7 separate regions of the Homo sapiens genome follow, and regions 1, 2, 4, 5, 6 and 7 are each linked to region 3. Evidence: promoter capture Hi-C in 16 types of primary human blood cells and fetal thymus (Javierre and others, 2016). All regions are on one chromosome and are shown on one strand. Each heading gives the region's core, a stretch centred on a gene start or on the middle of the fragment in contact. The rest is flanking DNA. Distances are from core to core; before and after follow the strand shown.

Region 1 (3,089 bases), core at 496-2,995, 490 kb after region 3:
CCTAAGGTGCTGGAATTATACAGGGGTGAGCCACCGCGCCCAGCCTATATATATACATGTTATGAGAGAGATTCTTGCTCTGTCCCCCAGGCTGGAGTGCAGTGATGCGATCTCACTTCACTGCAACCTCTGCCTCCCGGATTCAAGTGATTCTCCTGCCTCAGCCTCCCGAGTAGCTGGGATTAGAGGCTTGAATCACCACGCCTGGCTAATTTTTGTATTTTTAATAGAGACTGGGTTTCACCATGTTGGCCAGGCTGGTCTGGAACTCCTGACCTGAAGGGACCCCGCCTGCCTTGGCTTCCCAAAGTGCTGGGATTGTACGCTTGAGCCACTGAGCCTGGCCCACGTATATATTATTTTTGACGTTAGCAAGATCTGTAACCACCTTTGTCTTTACCTTTGTCCTTAAAGCGTTTTTAGAAAACCGGACAAACGAGCACAATTAATATTATTGAGTAACTGAAATCAATATATCAATTATAATAAATACAAGGAATATAATAAAATGTGCAGTATTTTATGATAAAAACGTGCATGTTATATTTCTTTTTTACTTTTATTTTCATTGCAATTTAACTTACTTGGCCTTTTTATTTACCCCTTCTTAGGCCTCTCTTCAGCTTCTGGAGACCTCACTATCCTATTATGTCTTTGTGTGAAGACATGCTGCTTTGTAATTATCGAAAGTGTCGCATCAAACTCTCTGGCTATGCATGGGTCACTGCCTGCTCTCACATCTTCTGTGATCAGCATGGCAGTGGTGAGTTTAGTCGCTCACCAGCTATCTGTCCTGCCTGCAACAGTACCCTTTCTGGAAAGCTAGATATTGTCCGCACAGAACTCAGTCCATCAGAGGAATATAAAGCTATGGTATTGGCAGGACTGCGACCAGAGATCGTGTTGGACATTAGCTCCCGAGCGCTGGCCTTCTGGACATATCAGGTTAGTGCTTAGTCTAGTTTCTCTTGAGCATGTGATTTATGGCATTTGTGGGAACTTCTAGTGTCTTTCCTTCATTGTATTATTATTAATTTTTTATGAGTATATGAGAAACTCTTTTTATTAAATTGTTTTCAAAAGCAATACTGTTTATTGTTGAAAATCAAAAGGAAGAAAATTAAAGCACTCATAATTCCATCACTCAGAGATAACCATTGTTTATATTTTGGGTATACACACACACACACTCACACACTCTCTCTCTCTTCTGTATAAAAGTAAGATAACACACACACTTTTATTGTTAAGAGTTGACAGTATATTATATCTGGTATGAATTTTTCTTCCTTTTGAGACGGGGTTTTCTTGTGTTGCCCAGGCTAGTCTCTAACTCCTGGGTTCAAGCCATTCTCCCGCCTCAGCCTCCTGAGTAGCCTGTGCTTCACTTGGTATGAATATCTTGTTAAATATTTTTTAGTTAACTATTCTATAATCATATTTTAATGGTTATATTGTATCATAATTTATTTCCAAGTTATTAAAATGCTATGATAAGCATTCTTATCAAATACGCATCCTTAACTTTTTCCCTTTATGATTTCTACTTTTAGTATTTCCTTTGAAAGACCTCCCTGTGGATGACTTTAAGCATGTCCTTGAATGTATTGTTATATCTTACATATACACTTATACTTCTTAAGGATGTTTGTCATCTGTCAAGTAACTTTTTATTATATTTTTCTGGGTAAGTTGTTTCTCTTACATGCTCCTCTATTTTTCAACTCCTTTGGTTAAATACCAAATAGTGTTTTTGCTGGCTTATGTGGTGAGAGTATGTTTATTTTTGTAAGCAACTGCCAAATTGTCTTCCAAAGTGGCTATACCATTTTATATTGCCAGCAGCAATGAATGAGAATTCCTGTTGCTCCACATCTTTGCCAGAAGTTGGTATTGTCCATGTTCTGGGTCTTGGCCATTTTAATAGGTGTATAGTGGTGTCTCATTTTAATTTGCATGTCTCTGATGACATATGATGTGGAGCATCTTTTCATATGCTTTTTTGCCTTTTTTTTTTTTTTTTTTTTTTTTTTTTGGTGAGGTGTATATGAAGTTCTTGGTCTTTTTTTTTTTTTTTTTTTGAGACGGAGTCTCGCTTTGTTGTCCAGGCTGGAGTGCAGTGGCGCGATCTCAGCTCACTGCAAGCTCTGCCTCCCGGGTTCACGCCATTCTCCTGCCTCAGCCTCCCGAGTAGCTGGGACTACAGGCGCCCGCCACCACGCCCGGCTAATTTTTTGTATTTTTAGTAGAGGCGGGGTTTCACCGTGTTAGCCAGGATGGTCTCGATCTCCTGACCTCATGATCCGCCCACCTCTGCCTCCCAAAGTGCTGGGATTACAGGCATGAGCCACCGCGCCCGGCCGAGTTCTTGGTCTATTTTTAAATTGTTTTCTTATTGTTGAGTTTTAAGTGTTCTTTTTATCCTTACTGTTGAGTTTGAAGTATTCTTTGATCCTTTATCAGAGCTATCTTTTGCAAATATACTCTCCTGATCTGTGGCTTGTCTTTTTATTCTCTTACAGGGTCTTTCACAGAGCAGAGATTTTTAAGTTTAATGAAGTCCTGCTTATCAATTTTCTCTTTCACGGATTATACCTTTGGTGTATTTTAAAAGTCACTGCCAAATCCAAGATCCACCTGGATTTTACCCTATGTTATCTTCTGGGAGTTTCATAGTTTTGCATTTTATGTTTAAGTCTGTGAACCATTTTGAGTTTATTTTTGTGAAAAGTATAAGATCTGTCTAGATTCATTGGGTCCTCAATTTTTTGCTGGCTATTGGCCAGAGGCTGTTCTTAGTTACTTGTCTCTTGGGCCTTCCTGACATGACTGCTTGCTTCCTCAAAGCCAGCAAGGGAGTGTGTCTCCTAGTAAGACAGACCTTATAGTCTTAGGTAATATACTTATGAAGTGACAACCTGTCACATTTTCTGTAGTATTCTAGTCACAGGTCCTGCCCACGTGCAAGGGGATAGGGAGTTACACAAGGGTGTATGTACCAGGAGACGATAATTTGTGGTTGTCTTAGAGTCTATTCTTCATGCTCTGGATTACTTGAAAAATGGGATTATATTTCTTAAAAACCTTTG
Region 2 (3,357 bases), core at 644-3,143, 390 kb after region 3:
CACTGAACTTTCCAGGGATGCAACTACCATGAAAATCATGGGATGATCATACCTTGTTTTGTTTGAAAATCTGCCAAAAGCTATTTAGTATTCTGGAAAATCATACCACATCAGTAATTCTGTTCATGGTATTTGAATCGCCATTATAATGCCTGTATCATTCTGCATTTGTAGCTGTTACATTCCAGGTGATTTTATATACAGATGCATATATCTGAGTACCACATTGTGTCTTCTTGAATGTTATACACAAACATTTACATATCTAAACATATAGTATTTAATTATAAGTCATATTCTTTCTAGTATTCCTTTTATCTCCCATCCAAGTACTAACCAAGCCCAACCCTGCTCAGCTTCCAAGATCAGAGGAGATCGGGCGCGTTCGGGGTGGTATGGCCGTAGACTCCTTTATATCTCTTTAAGAGATTTTACTAATTTTTTGGCCAGGCATGGTGGCTTATGCCTGTAATCCAAGCACTTTGGGAGGCCAAGGTAGGAGGACTATTTGAGCCCTGGAGGTAGAGAGCCTGGGCAACATAGCAAAACCCTGTCTCTACTTTTTGTCTTTAAATTTTGGTTTAAAATTGTGCGTGGGGGTAAGTTACATTCTTTACGAATTATGTTTCAGAAAAATAAAAAGAGCTTTAAAATATTTGTTATAAAAAGGAAATGTTTTAGTTCAGGTTGCTATAACAAATTACCGTAGACCGGGTGGCTTAAACAACAAATATTATTTCTCACAGTTCTAGAGAATGGAAGTCCAAGATCAGATTGCCAGCATGGTCTGCCTCTGAAGATGAGGGTCTTCCTTGGGATTGCAGATGGCTGTTTTCTTGTATCCTCATATCGTGGAAAAAGAGCTAGCTAGCTCTTCCGTCTCTCCTTATGAGGCCACCAATCCCATTTATGAGTATTCTAAACTCCATGACCTAATGACCTCCCAGAGATCCCACCCTAAATACCATCGCATTGGGATTAGGGTTTCAATATATAAATTTTGGGGAGACACAAACATAAAGACCATTGCAGGGAGTGTTGGGACTGGTGGCAATAGAGGTTTCTAAGGAAGGAAAGGGGTACTGGCTCAGTTAATAGAGGACAGAATGCCCTCAATTCTGAGCGGAAGCTCAGCTGTTACCTGAGACTCAAGGGTACCTCTCTAAGGAAAGCAATGATATTTTCCAGAAGACAGCTAATCTGCTTTATATAAAGGCAGAAAGCATATTTCTCCTGCTACTATGTTTGGTCCTCTCTTTATGAAGCTAGGATTATTAACCTAAGGGTCACTTGTCTCTTTCCTAAGCCTGGTTCCATCTTCCTGGAAAGGGTTCAGCATTAATCATTCAGGATGGCTCCAGATAGATTCTGTGTGATCCACGGATCTCTCTTCTGATCAACAGGAGGGGAGGCACTTGCTCTCAGTTCAGCGAACTTTGATTGACTGATGTCTACACTTGGTTACAGGCGGTTGCTTTCCGCTTTCCGTCTCCTTTTAAGGAGTTCCTCAAAGGAACTTTAGGATGAATTGAGTCTGACCGTCTTTGATATTAGGAAGGAGAGGTGTACAGCTAGGCAGCGAGCATGCTAAAATCTTTTCCAGGAAACGGTGTTTGAAGAGTTAATGGGAGAAAAAAAGACGAAAATTAGCCAGAGGAGACGAATTTGGTAGAGGGGGAAGCCCTAGGGACAGGAGAAAATAGGACCAGAAAGGGAAAAAAAATAGAAACAATAACAAACTAAACTCGGGCCCCAGAAAAGGCGGCAGGGGTCCTGGGCATTCGCGTCGCAGCCCTGGCATGTCGTCTTGCCCGGCCCTCGGCTCGCTGCCCTTCCAGCAGCTGCTGCGCCCCGCCCGGGCCCGAGAGTCTCCGCCCGCACCGTCTCTTCTCAGATCCGCATCCGGCTCCTCCCCCGGCTGCCACCCTTCCCACCGGCAGAATCCAGAGCGAAGTTTCTGCTTCCTGCTGCGGGAATCGGACGCCCCAGGTCAGGCACCCAGGGTTTCCAGCCCCAGTCTAAGGTAGGGTCCGAGCGCAGGCAGAACTTGCCCTGGCCCTGGGTCTAGGGCGCTGGGCTCTGAGGCTGAGAGCTGGGTGGGAAGTGCCTGGCGGGGCCGGTTAGGAACCACCCGAGACTCAGCTAGGGGTGCATCCACCCTGCTCCTCCCGGCGGCTCCGGGAAGGGGAGGGAGTGTATACTGCGTGAAAGGGGAGGTGAGAAAGGAGGAGGAGAAGGCTGAAGGAGAGGGAGGGACAGGAAGAGAGACCACGTAAGAATCATCCCCTCTTACTTCCTTGCCCTGTGTGCCCATCGAAAGGGGACAGTGGCTGTCACCAACAAATGGTAGTATGAGAACCGTTTGTGATAATAGAAACCCAGACTGTGCTTAAATGTGCTAGACTACCATACAGCCACTTGAAGAGTGAGGTGGAGGCCGGGCGCGGTGGTTCACGCCTGTAATCCCAGCACTTTGGGAGGCGGAGGTTGGGGATCACCTGAGGTCAGGAGTTTGAGACCAGCCTGACCAACATGGTGAAAACCCTCTCTACTGAAAATACAAAAAAATTAGCCGGGCATGGTGGTGGGCGCCTGTAATCCCAGTTACTCGGAAGGCTAAGGCAGGAGAATCGCTTGAACTCGGCAGGCAGAGATTGCAGTGAGCTGAACAACAGAGCCAGACTCCGCCTCAAAAAAAAAAAAAAAAAAAAAAGGAAAGAGTGAGGTGGGTATTAATGTGTTAACAGGGCAAGGTCTCTGAGATATACTAAGTGCAGAATAGCATCTAACTTATGATCCTGTTTGTGTAAAGCAAAAGCAAAAGCAGTGGTGATGGTGAAGGCATGTATTTGCATATGCATAGAAACTGTGAAACTGTTAGTATAAAACTGTGAGCAATGTTTACTTCCAGAGAAGGGAACTAGAGATGGAAGTGGGGACGGAACTTTAACTTTCCATTTGTGGTTCAGCCGAATCTCCTTTCAAAAACTCCAGGGTGCAAAACAATAAAATGAGCAAAATAGTGAGACTGTCCTTTTAAGGATAGGACAGTCTCACTATGTTGCTCAAATAAACTGTCCTTATTTTTCTGTTTATTTTTGGCTTGAGATCTCTTTTAAAAAAAATCTGAGTCAATTCTGAGTTTCCCCACTCCTTTCCTTGGGGGCTTATATAGGGCAACGACATGAGCAAAGTGTATTGGGCACAGAAGCCATCATTTTTTACGTGTTTGTCACACTGACGTCCAGTGAGATATTGTTGTCCTTTTTGGCCCTGGATTGTTAGTCATTCAGGTCTTCTTGGAAGTGTTCTGTACTTTTGTCCCTAAGCTTTTTCACACTAAGTTTAGGTGGTTGA
Region 3 (3,484 bases), core at 671-3,170:
TGCAGTGAGTTCTCAGTCAGGTGTAATGCCTGTGCTGCGTGAGAAACCAGGAGGTCAAGCAGGGAGTCTAGAACAAGTTCAGCAGAAGCAACAACAAATGTTGCCATGGCATCTACTGCCCTAAGACAAGCGGGGCTATGCCTCTGCAACTGGGTCAAGGATAAGGCTGCAGTAAGGGCTTCTGATGGTTCCCCATTGAAGTGCAATTAAAGCTCCAAGGGCTTGTCTAGATTGCTATGCATAAATAGACAAAATGGCTTCCTGTAGTTTCAGGATTCCTAGGGCCAGGGGCTGTTGAAGAGCCTTATTATAGTTACAGAAGATCTGTTCACATCTGAACTGTGGTTCTGAAATCATCTTGCTGGGTGGAGGCCACTTTTGTGCAGCCACGCCCAGTGCCTTAGTGGGGTCCACCTGACTAACCAAACCATCCCACCAGGCGCCCTTCAGGTGAGTCCTGTGCCTTATTTATGTCTGTATCCCACAGTCTAATGAATGAATGAACACATTCTAACTTGACTATTCAAGAGAATAAAAGTATTATTAAAGACTCAGAAAAATAAAATACAGGTGGGGGCTGGGGGAGTAAGGAAACTGTAGGGGCCAAGGAAAAATTCCCCTTTCACCCTCCAAAGGTTTGCTGAAAATCAACTGACAAAAGACAGATTGATAGGAAAAAACGCATACAAATTGATTTGATCGTAGTTTTACACGACACGGGAGCCTTCAGAAGACCCAAAGATAACAGGGGAAAGTGGGCATTCTTACACTTGGATATCAACAAAGTATGAACAGCTGTGTAGAAATATGACTGGACAACAGGGCGATCTAATGAAAATAGACTGAGTGGGGAAACCCAGCAAGGCCTCCCTGTCTAGATTCTTCTTGGCCTCTCTGAGCATTCGTCCTTTTTTTCTGGGTATGGGGGGCAGGACCCTCTCTGGAATGAGGATCTTACGACCTACAATCACACAAGGTAGGTCAGATAATTTCACTATGGCCACTTTTTACACAGAAAGGCTGAAACAATCTGAATACACAGCACGAAGGGATATTTTGATAATTCTTAGAGGTATCCAAATTGTTACTCAGCAAAAAAACAGGTCTCTTTCTAGGAGGGCATTCTGCTGCTAATAAATATGATATTCTTTGTATTTTTTCCCCAAAAAGAATTTGAGATTTGGGATTTAAGTTTATCTTTAGTTCCTCTACTCAATTCCGACCTACAGGGTCAGTGGTTACTGTAGATAAGAACAGCCCCATCCTCTCGATGCCCCCAGAGCAGGGGTGGAGGGTGGGTGGGAAGTGGCCAGAACTGGGTGAGCGCACCCTAGAGGCCTCCTCCTCCTCCCTATTCAGTTACTCCCCCTTTCTTCTCCAGATCTGGGAAGCCTTCCAGCTGGGGGCAGCAGGACAGCCTCCATTCCCCCCGACCCCGCCTCCCATCCCCGGGAGAGGTAGCGTTGGGAGAATGCCCTCCTAGAAAGAGACTTGGGTTTTGCTCCCTAGGAGCCCTGGAATAGCTTTGGCCAGAATTCCCTATCTCCCATTAGAACCTCTCCTTTGCGTCCTTTGTTAACCTCCAAGTCTACTTGGTGAAAACGCCCACGAAGAAGTAACAAGGACTTTGTTCCTAGTGTGCCAGGTTTGGGCACCAGTGCTGTAGTGGCTTTCTCTGCTGCTCCTTGTGCATCAGCAGACAGATGTGGTTCACATAGGAAGAAAGACTAACGTAGGCAAAGATTTGCTCTTTCTTCAGCAGCCCTAGAAAGACGGCGGCCTGGGTGATTCACCACTCCTTCCTCACGTCCTTGATTTTATTTGAACTGAGCTCCAGATGCTCCTCCCACCCTTTTCCTCTTGGAAGCCAAACCCCTTTGTAATCTGTATAAGGTCCACACCCCGGGAGCTGAGTGATTGCAGAAACTGGCCTTCCATCTCTCTCAGACACCAAGCTGCAGATCCAGGTAAGCAGCCCAAGAGGTGTTCTCAGGTGCCGCTTCTGCTTCAGGGTTGCAGAAGAGGGAGCTAGGGCCAGTCCACAGCACTGAGAAAGATTGGGTGATGCTAGCGCTGAAAAAATGTGGCCCAGGCAAACATCAGCTGGGGGCAGAGGGGTCAGGGTGGAACGTGCAGGCTGCAGAGCATCCATGGGACTGGAGAAGAAGGAGCCTCCAAATTGGGGGAGGCCAGCGTTTCTCTCTGGAATACAATGGAATCTTTTATGATGCCAGTGTCAGGCACTGGCCTGAGTTCCCTTATGCTCCAAGACAACAAGGCTCTGTCACCCATGGCCCTGGATGTCGGGGATACAATTTGGTTCATGATTTATTCAAACTGATGTTTCGATGAGCCATTTGAGCACTGGGTACAAATGTATTTTGGATCAAAGAAACTCCAGTATTCAAAGATAGGAACTGACAGGATTTTAGGTCACTTTGTAGGTCACCACCTAGAGGGGAGGAAGACCTCGCTTTGGAGAGTGGGAATAAAACGCTCGTGGAAAAGGGTACACGTGAGTGTCTCATTACACGAAAAACCTCAGGAAGTAGGATGGACGTCTTTCTGGCTGACCTGAAACAGAAAGTGTAAACCAGGCAAGCCATAGGTGGGAGCTGGAGTTCTTTTTCTAAGAGGGCTCTTTTCCTTCTCTCTCCTTTTCTCAATTAGGCTTTTCTGGGAAAGTGAGGCCACCATGGCTCTGGAGAAGTCTCTTGTCCGGCTCCTTCTGCTTGTCCTGATACTGCTGGTGCTGGGCTGGGTCCAGCCTTCCCTGGGCAAGGAATCCCGGGCCAAGAAATTCCAGCGGCAGCATATGGACTCAGACAGTTCCCCCAGCAGCAGCTCCACCTACTGTAACCAAATGATGAGGCGCCGGAATATGACACAGGGGCGGTGCAAACCAGTGAACACCTTTGTGCACGAGCCCCTGGTAGATGTCCAGAATGTCTGTTTCCAGGAAAAGGTCACCTGCAAGAACGGGCAGGGCAACTGCTACAAGAGCAACTCCAGCATGCACATCACAGACTGCCGCCTGACAAACGGCTCCAGGTACCCCAACTGTGCATACCGGACCAGCCCGAAGGAGAGACACATCATTGTGGCCTGTGAAGGGAGCCCATATGTGCCAGTCCACTTTGATGCTTCTGTGGAGGACTCTACCTAAGGTCAGAGCAGCGAGATACCCCACCTCCCTCAACCTCATCCTCTCCACAGCTGCCTCTTCCCTCTTCCTTCCCTGCTGTGAAAGAAGTAACTACAGTTAGGGCTCCTATTCAACACACACATGCTTCCCTTTCCTGAGTCCCATCCCTGCGTGATTTTGGGGGTGAAGAGTGGGTTGTGAGGTGGGCCCCATGTTAACCCCTCCACTCTTTCTTTCAATAAAACGCAGTTGCAAACACCTGATTTCTGAAGCGGTTCTGTCTAGGTACTGTTTCTGGCATTGCCTTCCAGCAAGGGGTAAGAACTGTAAATCTGATTC
Region 4 (3,253 bases), core at 210-2,709, 280 kb after region 3:
ATTCTTATTTTACAAAATAGGAACTCAGAATACCCAGTGCCTATCTGAAAAAGATACTAAAATGATTAGCATAGTATTAAGTTAGAAAGGTAAACAAGAGAACTGAAATATAGCTATATTAGGAAGAGGGGAGGGAGGTGGAGTTGAGCTAAACCTTAATATGTTGTAAAGTCAATAGACCTTTGATGGATTAGTGAGTACAGGACACCTTTCCTAGTAGAGGACACCATTAGAGGGAATTCGTTTGAGGGAAAACAGCCTGCAAATTATTTATTTATTTATTTGAGATGGAGTCTTCCTCTGTCACCCAAGCTGGAGTGCAGTGGCACGATCTCAGCTCACTGCAACCTCTGCCTCCCAGGTTCAAGGAATTCTCCTGCCTCAGCTCCCAAGTAGCTGGGATTACAGGCGCCCACCACCATGCCCAGGTAATTTTTGTATTTTTAGTAGAGACAGGGTGTCACCATGTTGGCCAGGCTGGTCTTGAACTCCTGACCTCATGATACACCTGCCTCAGCCTCCCAAAGTGCTGGATTATAGGCATGAGCTACCATGCCCAGCCCAAATTACTTACGATTGGAAATCACCTTAATGTGACAAAAGAGGGAATACTTAAATAAATCACATTACATTAATAGAATAAAATATATCGAGTAAAACTTTTTAATGACTACTCAACAATATGGAAAATTCTATTATATAATAGAATTTTCAAAAGATATAAGTCCTCTTTCCCTAACCTTCCCTTTCTAAACCATTTAGTCCTAAAGCCACCAGGTGGGGCAGAACAAGGTCATAGACATTGATGAGGAGGGGCCATCTGGCACAGGAATAAGAACTCAGAACCCAAGAGAGATGAAAAGGTGTCCCTGGTGAGGGATGTCTGAGGGGGCTGAGAGGGGAACACAGCCTGCAGAATCACAGCCTGAGCAAGTGGAGGAGATGTCCACTCAGAGGGGTTGCCTAGTGTGAGATATCCAGGCCCAAATGGTGGACACCCATGTAGAGGGGCAGCCCTGGCACAGAGTGTCAGAGCCAGAGTGGGCAAAGGGCATCCATATGGGAGGGGGAATGGCGGCAGCAAGGTGAGATTGGTTACATACATGAAGATGCATGCAATAAGCAACTATATTAAAGAATATGGGAGAAGAAATTTATAAGTCAAAAAGTTATAAATAAGAAAATTAAGATATAAATATGGGAAGAGAAAACCTAATATGAGCTTGTGGGGTTGGATTTGAATTGAGGTATTGGTATAAACGTATGGTTTTCAATATAGTTACATAAAGAAAATACATGTGAGAACTTACATGTTACATAAAGAAAATACATGTGCTGCACTTAGGCCCTCGAATCGAGTTCTCCTGCAGGTTGCTGCAGATTTCGGTGTATCCTGGGGTGGGAGCCTCCAGCTTTGCCTGTGGCTGCTGTCCTTTCAGAGCTAACAGATACCTACTTACAGATAGTATTGTGAAATTAAAAGAATTTCAGCACAAGAAGGTGGCTGTTGCATGTAATCTTTCCTAAAGAAACCTATTTTAGGAATTTGGAAGAGAAACTGACAAGCTCATCTTGAAGGGGGAGTTGATAACCTTACTTTATTTTTGTGGGTCCCAGGACCATGTGGAGCTGGCTACAAATGTCATTTACAGGTACCATGCAGGGAACAGAAATATCACTTTGGGGGAGTATAGGTTTGGACCACTTTTCATGAGTCTGTTATGGGTTGGATCTTGAGGGGCTCATGAAAGACCAGCATTTATGAGATTCCTTCTCAGATTCCACATCATTCAATATTTTGATGGATATGTTATTTATCAAAGGCAAATATAAAAGTGCTTTGGAAGTATTGATAGAGATGAAAAATCAAGCTGTGAAATTCACCAAATATCCTATGTTCTTAGTTTTGCAGTTTGCAACAAACTGAAGAGCGCTGAGTCTTTCAAAATCTGTTCTGCATTAACAGAAGAAGCCCCACTCAAAGGAGAGGTTCCCTCCAGGAGAGCATCCCGTTTCTTTGTGGCGTTAGCTCTGAATCAGAACCAAGTGGCAAAAGCTATGTCCATTTTTTTCTCAAACCATGAATCCAGAAAGCATAGCCTGCACTAACTTAACTATTATAATCCATATCCAGTCAAATATGTTGGAAACCCTGATAGAGACACTAAAAAAATGCTGCAGAAGGAAATTTATTAAAATTTGTGAAAAGACATGCATTCTCAGAGGAAGTGCTGGCAAAAGTGAAGGAAAAGTGAAGGATATGCCTGCCCTTGTGGCCAGATTTAATGAGATCTATGGAAAACTGCACATCAGTGGCCAGGTCACCACTTGTACTTTGGGTACTCTGCTCTGCCACACCCCCAGGGACAGGAAATCCCATATGTTGCTATTAAACAAGAGGATGATGAGCCATTGGACCTTCCAGCCACTCAACCGGTCCTTTTTGGCTGAGTAATAATCCTCATTTCATCCACCTGTGGATCTGAAGGGCCTGCTTCTAGTGAGTTGTTGCCTTCCCTAAGAAGCAGGCATTGCACTTCAGTAGACGCTGTGCTGACACTTAGCCTCCTCTTGAAATTCCCAAGTTCACTGAATGGTGGCATGTTGATCTCTGAGAAGTTATGTTGCACTACTGTGAAGGTCTACATGCAAGCATGGTTCCCTCAGAAAGGAGCTTCCCTTGTACACTGCTGAGGATACCTGAAGGAACATGGTCAGTCTCCAGTCCAGCTTCCAGCACCAGAATGGAATCCAGCAAGCACCACAGGAATGAATTTCACTACAAGTGTGGTCACTCTGATTTTCAAGGGAGTAGTTACTTGTAAATTACATCCTTGCTGAATTCAAGAGGTCTGAAACCCTATTCTATCATGTTAGAAAATAGCCCAGGATTTCCTCACTGATCTGCCATCATATATTTCTATGACTTGAGCCCTCATTTTTCCATATGCAAAACAATAATGCCTATGCGTATTTGCATATAGATTTGAAATCTTCATGCAAAGTTCAGTAGGATCAGATTTTCTCAAAAATAAGAGAAATAAAAAAGGTTTGTAAGCAAAAATTAAAAAAACGAAAGAAAGAAAAAAGAGAAAATACATGCAAATACATGTGAGTGTGAGTGTGATTGGCTATTTGCCATATTCCCACCTATGTCCACTGAGACAGCCTTAGAGCTCTCTCACCCCAACAGCAATGAGCACCTACCTAGCACCCAGATCCAGGTTTCAAAATACTGTTCGTCACTAAACAC
Region 5 (3,117 bases), core at 280-2,779, 440 kb after region 3:
ATTCCATTTTATGACGGAATAATATTGCATTGGATGGATATACTTTTTATGTTTTTACAGCTTTATTGAGTTATGATTGGCATGCAATAAACCACACATATTTAAAATACACAATTCGATAAAGCTTGACATATATATATATTAATAAAATTATTACCACGGTCAAGATAGTTAACATATCTAACAGGAATAAACCACATTTTGTTTATCCATTTATTGGTTGATGGATGTTTGGAGTGTTTCTACTTCTTGGCTATTATAAATATTGTTGCTATCAATATGCATGTACAAATTTTTGTGTGAACATTGCTTTTTTATTCTCTTGGTTATACACCTAGTAGTGGAATTGCTAGGTCCTGATAACTCTTATGTTCAACTATTTGAGGAACTGCCAAGCTTTTCCAAAGCAGCTGCACCACTTTATATTCGCACTAGCAATGTGTGAGGATTTTTATTTGTCCATATCTTTGCCGAGATTTGTTAGTCTCAGGCCTTAGCCTCCTGAGTAGCTGGAATTACAGGCAAATGCCACCACGCCTGGCTAATTTTTCATATTTTTGCTAGAGATGGGGTTTCACCATGTTGGCCAGGCTGGTCTCAAACTCCTGACCTCAGATGATCTGCCTGCCTCTGGCTCCCAAAGTGCTGGAATTACAGGCGTGAGCCACCACACCCGGCCAAGAGTTTTAAATTTTGACGAAGACCAACTTATTTCTTTTGCTTGCTTGTGCATTGGTGTCATATTTAAGAAACTGTTGCTTAATCCAAGGTCACAGAGATTTCTCCTTATGCTCTAAGAGCTTTTTAGTTTTAGCTTACATTTAGGCCTTTGATCCATTTTAATTTTTACGTAGTGTGAGATAGTGTTCCTAATTTATTACTTTGCATGTGGATATCCAAGTCGTCCCAGCACCATTTGTTGAAAAGACTATTTTTCCCCCATTGAATGGTCTTGGCACCCTTGTTGAAAACCAATTGACCATATTTGCTTGGGTTTATATCCAGACTCTCAATTCTATCCCATTGATTTCTATGTCTATCCTATGTCATTATCACATTGTCTTGAGTACTGTAGCTTTTTCAAGATTGTTTTTGTTATTCATGATCTTTGTAATTCCTTATGAATTTTTCTTGGCCATTTCTGCAAAAAAAAAGGATAATGGAATTTTAATAGGAATTGTATGGAATCTATAGGTTGCTCTGGGAAGTATTACCATTTTAATAATAAATTTTCCAATCTACGAACACTTGTAGATTGAAAACTACAGAACTGTTGACAGAAATTCAAGACCTAAATAAATAGGTCTTAGCTGGGTATGGTGGCTCAAGTGTGTAATCCCAGCACTTTGGGAGACTGAGGTGGGCCTTGAGGTCAGGAGTTCAAGACCAGCCTGCCAACATGGTGAAACCCCATCTCTACTAAAAATACAAAAATTAGCTGGGTGTGGCGGTGCACACCTGTAATCCCAGCTACTTGGGAGGCTGAGGCCGGAAAATCACTTGAACCCGGGAGGCAGAGGTTGCATTAAGGGAAGATTGTGCCACTGCACTCCAGCCTGGGCAACAGAACAAGACTCTGTCTCAGATAAATAAATAAATAAATAAATAAAGGTGGCCTTGAATGTTTTTCAATAGTTTTGTAGTTATCAGTGTACAAGTTTCATGCTTCTTTGGTTAAATCTATTCCTAGTGTTTTATTCTTTCTGACGCTATTATAAATGGAATTGTTTTCTTAATTTTTCAGATTATTCTTTACTAGTGTGTAGAAATAGAAATACAATTCATAGGCCAGGCGTGGTGGCTCACACCTGTAATGCCAGCACTTTGGGAGGCCAAGGTGGGTGGATCACCTAAGGTCAGGAGTTCAAGACCAGCCTGGGCCCAACATGGTGAAACCCTGTCTCTACTAATAATACAAAAATTAGCCAGGCATGGTGGCACATGCCTGTAATCCCAGCTAGTTGGGAAGCCGAGGCGGGAGGCTGAAGCAGGAGAATCACTTGAACCCGGAGGCAGAGGTTGCAGTGAGCTGAGATCTCACCATTGCACTCCAGCCTGGGCAACAAGAGTAAAATGCCATCTCCAGAAAAATAAATAAAATAAAAAGAAATACAGGCTGGGTGTAGTGGCTCATGCCTGTAATCCCAGCACTTTGGGAGGCTGAGGTGGGAGGATCACAAGGTAAGGAGTTCGAGACCAGCCTGGCTAATATGGTGAAACCCTGTCTTTACTAAGAATACAAAAATTAGGCAGGCGTGGTGGTGGGCACCTGTAGCCCCAGCTCCTCGGGAGGCTGAGGCAGGAGAATCACTTGAGCCCGGGAGGTGGAGGTTGCAGTGAACCAAGATTGCGCCACTGCACTCCAGTCTGGGCAACAGAGCAAGACACTCCGTCTCAAAAAAAAAAAGAAAAAGAAAAAAAAAGAAATACAATTCATCTTGTATCCTACAATCTTGCTGAACTTTTTAGCTCTAAATATGGATTCTTTTGGGCCTTCTCTATAGATCACGTAATTTGCAAATTTAGTTTTATCTCCTTTTTAATCTTGATGCCTTTTTTTTCTTGCTTAAGTACCATGGTTAGAACCTCCAGTACAATATTGAATGGAAGTGGTGAGTGCAAACATCTTGGTCTTATTCCTGATCTTAGAGGATAAGCTTTCAATCTTTCACCATTGTAATGTTAGCTGTGAGTTTTTCATAGATGTTCTTCATAGGGTGGAGGAAGCTCCCTTTCATTCCTACTTTGTTGGATTTTATTTCATTATGAAAAAATGTTACATTTTGCCAAATGCTTTTTCTGCATCTGAGATGATCATGTGATTTTTGCCCTACCTTGGTTTTCAATCTTGCATTACTGTGATAAATCTCACTTGATCATTGTATATAGTCCATTTATAATGTTGCTGGATTAGGCTTGGTAGTATTTTGTTGATTTTTGCAATTATATTGTTAAGGGATATTGGTCTATAATTTTATTTTCTTGTGATATCTTCATCTGGTTTTGGTTTCATTCTGCTTTGTAGAATTAGTTGCAAAGTATTTTCCTCTCTTCTATTCTTTGGAAAAGTATGCAGTCTACTTCAGTTTTAATAGCAGGTTACTTCAGTGAGTAGAT
Region 6 (3,270 bases), core at 319-2,818, 320 kb after region 3:
GGGTTCTTTGACCCGAAAACAACAGAGCAAATTCAGATTAATCCAAAAGAATATCACATCTAATTTAAGCCAAAACTAAAAATTAGACAAAATGATTAAAGACAGGAAAATTTTATTTTTATTAAAATCCAAATTTACAGTAACAGAAAAACCAAGCAGATAACCAGTGTTTGTTCGAAGGCATCCCTGAGAAACAAAACATTATTATGAAAATCAGGGGCCTATTTACAAGAAAAAAAAGGCAACACAAATCTAAGCCAAATTGAATTAGGCAGAAGGCACAGCACAGAATGAATAGCTCTCTTCTTCCCAACTTCTTGCTTTAAAGGAGCAGCAGGTGGCATTACCTCTTTGTGTCTATTCCTATTAGTAATCAACAAACGAACTGAGAAGTGGCAAAAAAAATTAAGACCATATTCTCCCTTTGCTTCTAAAAAACTGGAGGTGACAGACATATATCCTTGGCAGCATTGATGTAAGTCATCAAGAAGGCACACTAATTCATTGATGTGAAAAGATCTCCAAGATATGTTAAAATAAAATAGCAAGATACAGAAAGTATATATAACATACTAACTGCTGTTTATAATAAGAGAAGAAAAATAGAATTTGTATTTGTTTATATTTGTATAGATCCTGGAAGAATGCAAAAGAAACTAATAACAGTGGTCACCAGTGGGTGGGGAAGGAAGGGCATATGAGGACAGGATAGGGGTGAGAGTTCTCACTATACACATTTTATGTTGCTTAATTTTTGAACTATGTGATTATATACCTATTCACAATTTTATATTAAAAAGAAGGGGAAACTATTGACTTAAGTGTATATTTTCATCTCTAAGTTGTTTGCACTTTTGCCTCTACATTCTATTTTATAACAGCTTATTCCTTTTGTGTGTGTGTGTGTGTGTGTGTGTGTGTGACAGAGTCTTGCTCTGTCACCTAGGCTGGAGTGCAGTGGTATGATCATGGGTCACTACAGCCTCGATCTCCCAGGCTTGAGCCAGCCTCCCACCTCAGCCTCCCGAATAGCTGGGACTACAGGTGTGCACCACCATGCCCAGCTAATTTTTAAATTTTTTGTAGAAACAAGGTCTCACTATGTTGCCTAGGCTGGTCTCAAACTCCTGAACTCAAGCAGTCCTCCTGTCTTGGCCTCCCAAAGTGCCGGGATTACAGGCATGAGCCACTGTGCCCGGCTAATTTATTCTTTAAAACACTACAGAAGACCCCAACCTGACTAAAAATTAAATACTTAACACCAACCATTGTGCTATTCTGTACAGTTAATTTTGGGTGAAAGTAATTCTACTATCAAAACAAGCCTCTCTTTTAGTCAGGCTTCTAGCCACCAAAATACTACAGTGCAATTTTTATCTACCAGTCCTTCGTTTAAAAACTGTCAATGGCTGGCCATCTTGCCTAGAAAATAAGGTCTTACTCTTTCATTTTGTTTTGCTTTTGAGAGACAGGGTCTCACTCTGTTGCTCAGGCTGGAGCGCAGTGGCTCCATCATGGCTCACTGAAGGCTCAGCCTCCCCGACTCAAGCAATCCTCCCACCTCAGCCTCCCAAGTAGCTGGGACCACAGGCAACCACCATCATGCTCAGATAATTTTTGTAATTTTTGTAGAGACGAGGTTTCCCCATATTGCCCAGGCTGGTCTCGAACTTGGTCTTGAACTCCTGGGCTCAAGTGATCCGCCCACCTTGGCCTCCCAAAGTGCTGGGATATAGGCGTGAGCCACCGCACCTGGCCCTAAGGTCCTACTCTTGAGCCTGGAATCAGAGCTCCTCTCCAGCTTGCTGCCCATCTTCCCATTTATTTCTTCACTTTAAGCATTTCAGTTTGTTCAATGATTAAACATTCCTGGATTCATCTGTATGTAATGGCTTCTGCCATGTCCTCTTCACCTATCTTTTTTTTTTTTCAAAGATGGAGTCTTACTCTCTCACTTAGGCTAGAGTGCAGTTCCGCAATCATAAAGCCCACTGCAGCTTCAAACTCCTGCGTTCAAGTGAATCTCCCACCTAGTATGTGTGATTATAGGCATGAGCCACTGTGCCTGGCATTTCTGTAAGGCCTAAATAATGTCTCATCAATCCTTTCCTACTCCCCAGCTCCGGTGATGGTCCTCTTCTCTCAATTCCTGTAGCACATACCATCATTGACACTTAGCATACGCTACTTTTCACACATTACTGTACTCCTTTTGTAAAAAATTAGGCCCTCTTCCTCAGTTCAGTCGAAAAAGCTGATTCTAAACAATGACAATATAACATATGAAGAGATTAGTAAAAGTCTTTAGCAGCTATAAAGGGCTCAAATAACTCAGCCTAGTTATTTCTTTTTATGCATACATCTTGTCTCACATCTAGACTGTAGACACTTCATCTTATACCAACTTACATTTTGGTTTTTAGGACAATGTTCTCTACATAATACATGATTAATGAATATTTATTGATGCTAATAAAGATGGTCATGATAGGGTCAAGAAAGCAAGCCTGACTTCAATGTGTTTGGACACCTACCATGAGACTCAGTAAAATCAATCTATTTTGCAGGCATTCTGCAGGCCCCTCCAGAAATGAATGGTATCATCGCCAGTTTTTTTCAAGAATGTCTTTTCTCTGGAAAGCCCTCCCACACCTACTTCCCTTCACTTTGTGCTCGTATCCTACAATCCTAAACTGATACGTTCGGTTTTGGCTGGACTGGTTGGCTTTTTAAAATCAGACACTCGATCAACAAAATGTGGTGTATCCATGCAATAGAATATTATTTGGCCTCAAAAAAGAATTAAGTACTGATACATGCTACAACTTGGATGCATCTTGAAAACATTATGCTAAGTGAAAGAAGCCAGCCACAAAAGTCCAATTCCATTTGTGTGAAAGTCCAACATAGTTAAATCTATAGGCACAGAAGGTAGATAAATGGCTGTTTGGGGCTATGGGGGAGCAGATAACGTTTCCCTTTGAAGTGATGAAATGATCTCAGATTAACTGGCAATAATTGCACTTATTTGTGAATACACTAAAGACCATTGAATCACACACCTTAAATGGGTGAATTCTATGGTACGTAAATTTTATCTCAATACAGCTGTTTTTTAAAAAAGAAACTGAAGACATTATGTCTTCATATAAATAAATATGAATTTAGTAAATCTACTTACTAAGTCTAAAAAGCTTACATATTCCACTCTTAAATATTCCACTCAAGTATCTCTAGGACATATTTTTCAGATGGCCCCATTGTGATTCC
Region 7 (3,479 bases), core at 617-3,116, 340 kb after region 3:
TATCTGTAAAATACAGGTACCAACCAATCAGAACCAATGGCGCCATAAACAACCAATGCCAGCCACCCTGTAGTGCCCCAGCTGAATATCCTCCCTGCTTGCAACTGCAGCTAACAATATTGTTCAGTACCCAGCAAATTTATCCCAAGATGGGGCTTAAGTTACTTCATTAATTAATTAGAGAGCCATCTATCAAGCAGCTTCTATGTTCCAGGCATTTAGCATAAAAGGGGGCTCATCCCAAGCACCTTCTCTCTGCCACTTCTGTGCTTCTGTCCCTTTCAATCTACCTATCAAATTATTTGAATGTAAAATATTAGATCATAAGTCAGAAGACGGGGATTTAGAGCTCCATTTCAATCTGTCACTTAGCTTAAATGACTCCAGTTTACACAGCCTCAGTTTCCACATCTGTAAAATAAAGATATAGTCTTGCCTTCCCTGTCCACATCACAGTGGGTTCTGAAATAAAATGAATATAACTATGAATGTGCTTTATTGGCCGGGCACAGTGGCTCACGCCTGTAATCCCAGCACTTTGGGAGGCCGAGGCGGGTGAATCACGAGTTCAAGTGATTGAGACCATCCTGGCCAACATGGTGAAACCCCATCTCTACTAAAAATACAAAAATTAGCTGGGTGTGGTGGCACACACTTGTAATCCCAACTACTCGGGAGGCTGAGGCAGGAGAATCGCTTGATCCCGGGAGGTGGGCAGAGATCACACCACTGCACTCCAGCCTGGCGACAGAGTGAGACTCTGTCTCAAAAAAAAAAATGCTTTATTAACTGTGAGCAAGTTCCAAATATTATGATTACTTTTTGCATTTTTCTGCCTATTGATCTACTCAACAACACAGAGCTCAGATCCTAGTTATCCATGCACAATACTCATTTTTCTTTATGTTTTAGAAGTTTTCTCTGGCTGCTCTAGCTAGAAGTGATCTCTTCTTTTCTTGAACTTGAATTACATTGTTTAATTCTTTTATTATGAAGCATGTGCTGTATCATGAATTTCTAGTATTGATATTTTTCCATGTAATAAAATACTAGTGCTGATTTTCTTTTTTTTTTTTTTTTTTTTGAGACACGATCTTGCTCTGTTGCCCAGGTTTAGATCATGGCTCATTGTAACCTTGAACTCCTGGGCTCAAGCAATCCTCCACCTCAGCCTCCCAAAACACCGGGATTACAGGCATGAGCCACCACTCCTGACCTGATATGTTATACTGTCAATGTTTACACTATTCTGTCTCCCTACCCAGAGTGTAAGCTTTTTTAAGGAGTGTCTTTCACAAAGTGTAGATATTTAAAAAATATTTTTAGGACAGTTTTTGGAATATATGTGTAACTAGGGCGCAAATAATGGATCCTACTCCAACCCCAGACAATGCTTGAGCATCTGTGTGCCACAAACAGCAGAAAAAGCAGCAGACTGGCCTCCCTCTATGGAGCTACAACCTCTTCCCTATTTTGTATCTGGAGCTTCCTTAGTTCTTTAAGTGTCTGTTAGGGGCTCTTATCTAACTGGTCGAAGGTTACTAGCTTCCAAGTAGAAGTTGGCCTGAGAAAACCCTGTCTAAAAAAATCAGGACCTAGGTGAAGTCTCCAGCCCCTGTAGCAGCCAAGTGCTGGGACATCTGCAGTTCCTTTGTTATTACATATTTGGGGCTGGCTGTACTTTCTTTGATGCACTTCCTTTCTTAGTGGAGAGTCTGCTAGCCAAACTGATAATGGACCTCCTCGGGGTTTATTGTTTTTATCAATTCCTTGTTGCTTCCCATATTTAAAGCAGTCCCAGTTTGGGCTATGACTTGGGAAAAAATCCAGGTGTGGTTCAGGCGCCCATAAAGACCACACGAGACTTCAGGTAGGGGAGGAGGCACTGCCCCTTTGCTGGAAGCAAAGTTGAGACAGGCCTAAAGACTGTCCCATCTGTCAAATAAGGTGACGAAAATAACCTTGTATTTGATTAATCCAATCTACAAACTTGTGCGTATGTTAAAGGTTGGTGGTCATAAAACTGAGTAAAGGCACGGTGGCTTGTCCCTGTAGTCCCAGCTACTGGGAAGGCTTAGGCAGGAGATCAAACTCAGGAGTTTGAGTCCAGCATAGGCAAGACCCCATCTCTATTGAATTTTTTTTTTTTTTTTTTTAGTAAAACGATGAAATCTTCTAGTAGTGGAGACACTAATGAAAAGATAATTTAACAATTTGATCAGCAATGGGGAAAGACGGGGCTCTGTAAGGACAGCTTCCAGGAAAACCCAGTCTTGTGTCCTGTCCTGAAAGTGACTCTAGCGACAAAGGCTGGAGTGATAATCTTAACTTTTTAATCCATTTCCTTCTGGTACCTCATTACTCTGACTTTTTAAAGGTACTTCTTTGAGTAGAACAGCTAACTTTGTCTACTGTTCCCCACCGTCCATTTTCTCCCCGCTCAGAAGATCCCAAGCTTCCGCACTCCTTTATTGCACCCGCCCAGCCTCCTTTAAAATGCATAAGCCACGCCCCCCATGTTCTGGCGCTAAGTTCGGGCCAATGCAGTTGCGCCGCTAGGATCACAGGACGAAAGAAGTAAAGTCACCAGCCAATAGGAAACCAGCTACAACGCAAAGCCGGAGAAAAGTGTTTTAGTGGTGTCTTTGAACCAATGAGGAGCAGAGCAACAGGGACCGTGCAGCTTCCAGAAACACGTGACCAGTTGAGCAGACGCAGCCTAGCCCTACCTCCTGGTCTGGAGGTAGCGCGATGGGCGTCGCTCCCAATAGCTTGCAGAACCTCTAGTCACGTGCAGGTTTTGCAAGCCCAGCAGCATCTGGCAGGTCATGTGACAGTTGACGTTTGTGCGTCGCTCCCCAATGGAAAAGGAGAGCTGCCTTCACAGGACCAGGAATTGGTTTATCTACGCGAATAATAGCATGACCCGGGCGGGGATAGCCTATCACGTGCTGCTAGACGGAACGGGGCGGGGCAGGCCACTGGTTGCGGAGTGAGCTGGGCGCGCGGCGCGCAGGCGCCCTGGGGACCCGGTAGCGGCGGTGGCGGTGGCGGCGGTGGCGGTGGCTGCGGCGACGGCAGAGGCGAAGGGAGCCGGATCGCCGACCTGAGCGGGAGGCGGCGGTGGCGGCCATGGCGGCAGATGGAGAGCGTTCCCCGCTGCTGTCTGAGCCCATCGACGGTGGCGCGGGCGGCAACGGTTTAGTGGGGCCCGGCGGGAGTGGGGCTGGGCCCGGGGGAGGCCTGACCCCCTCCGCACCACCGTACGGAGCCGGTAAACATGCCCCGCCCCAGGGTAAGCCGGGGCGGGTCCGAGGTGCTCCCCGGGGTACTCTGAAAGCCGGGGAGGGGGCGGGACCGAGGGCGGAGGCGGGTCCCAGTCGCCAGGTGCGGGACTGCTGCACCTGTGACTGGGCGAGGCTTCCTTCCCTCCGTAATCGCGACCACAGCCTAGGGACGGAAGGGGGTTCTGAGCAACC

The links. The method cuts DNA at HindIII sites, captures the fragments that hold promoters and counts their contacts. A CHiCAGO score of 5 or more calls a contact.
Region 1: a contact is called between a fragment that was not itself captured here and the fragment with the promoter of RNASE1 in region 3, in 1 of 17 cell types (neutrophils). The highest score is 5.2, in neutrophils.
Region 2: the fragment with the promoter of TEP1 here is called in contact with the fragment with the promoter of RNASE1 in region 3 in 1 of 17 cell types (M2 macrophages); the score reaches 5.9 in M2 macrophages.
Region 4: a contact is called between a fragment that was not itself captured here and the fragment with the promoter of RNASE1 in region 3, in 1 of 17 cell types (monocytes). The highest score is 6.1, in monocytes.
Region 5: a contact is called between a fragment that was not itself captured here and the fragment with the promoter of RNASE1 in region 3, in 1 of 17 cell types (naive B cells). The highest score is 5.4, in naive B cells.
Region 6: a contact is called between a fragment that was not itself captured here and the fragment with the promoter of RNASE1 in region 3, in 1 of 17 cell types (erythroblasts). The highest score is 5.4, in erythroblasts.
Region 7: a contact is called between a fragment that was not itself captured here and the fragment with the promoter of RNASE1 in region 3, in 3 of 17 cell types (erythroblasts, M0 macrophages and M2 macrophages). The highest score is 8.2, in erythroblasts.

Annotation. Positions count from the first base shown.
Region 1 is chr14:20,314,083-20,317,171 of GRCh38, reverse strand. CCNB1IP1 (cyclin B1 interacting protein 1) reads left to right here. Exons shown (of 7, transcript NM_021178.5): 5 at 612-945. The coding sequence starts at 649. Among named protein-coding and RNA genes, the nearest start is that of SNORA79B, 7.7 kb to the left of the region's middle. The HindIII fragment of the contact is 4,318 bases long and covers 1-3,089 here.
Region 2 is chr14:20,412,037-20,415,393 of GRCh38, reverse strand. TEP1 (telomerase associated protein 1) reads left to right here and starts at 1,893. Exons shown (of 55, transcript NM_007110.5): 1 at 1,893-1,989. It also overlaps the pseudogene RNA5SP382. RefSeq lists enhancers at 1,690-1,739, 2,240-2,309, 2,860-3,029, 2,139-3,055. The HindIII fragment of the contact is 9,686 bases long and covers 1-3,331 here.
Region 3 is chr14:20,801,280-20,804,763 of GRCh38, reverse strand. It overlaps RNASE1 (ribonuclease A family member 1, pancreatic), which reads left to right and starts at 1,920. Exons shown (of 2, transcript NM_002933.5): 1 at 1,920-1,967; 2 at 2,671-3,484. The coding sequence starts at 2,696. The coding sequence ends at 3,166. All of the region lies in intron 3 of LOC105370397 (a long non-coding RNA gene), which reads right to left. The HindIII fragment of the contact is 7,079 bases long and covers 1-3,484 here.
Region 4 is chr14:20,523,488-20,526,740 of GRCh38, reverse strand. It overlaps the pseudogene PTCD2P1. Among named protein-coding and RNA genes, the nearest start is that of RNASE10, 20 kb to the right of the region's middle. The HindIII fragment of the contact is 9,274 bases long and covers 1-3,253 here.
Region 5 is chr14:20,358,999-20,362,115 of GRCh38, reverse strand. No RefSeq gene overlaps it. Among named protein-coding and RNA genes, the nearest start is that of PARP2, 17 kb to the right of the region's middle. The HindIII fragment of the contact is 2,261 bases long and covers 399-2,659 here.
Region 6 is chr14:20,478,777-20,482,046 of GRCh38, reverse strand. No RefSeq gene overlaps it. Among named protein-coding and RNA genes, the nearest start is that of PNP, 11 kb to the right of the region's middle. The HindIII fragment of the contact is 3,257 bases long and covers 1-3,196 here.
Region 7 is chr14:20,460,979-20,464,457 of GRCh38, reverse strand. PIP4P1 (phosphatidylinositol-4,5-bisphosphate 4-phosphatase 1) reads left to right here and starts at 3,024. Exons shown (of 7, transcript NM_144568.4): 1 at 3,024-3,274. The coding sequence starts at 3,133. RefSeq lists enhancers at 2,360-2,439, 1,772-2,737, 2,740-2,809, 2,738-3,479 and silencers at 2,930-3,339, 3,400-3,479. The HindIII fragment of the contact is 1,182 bases long and covers 1,276-2,457 here.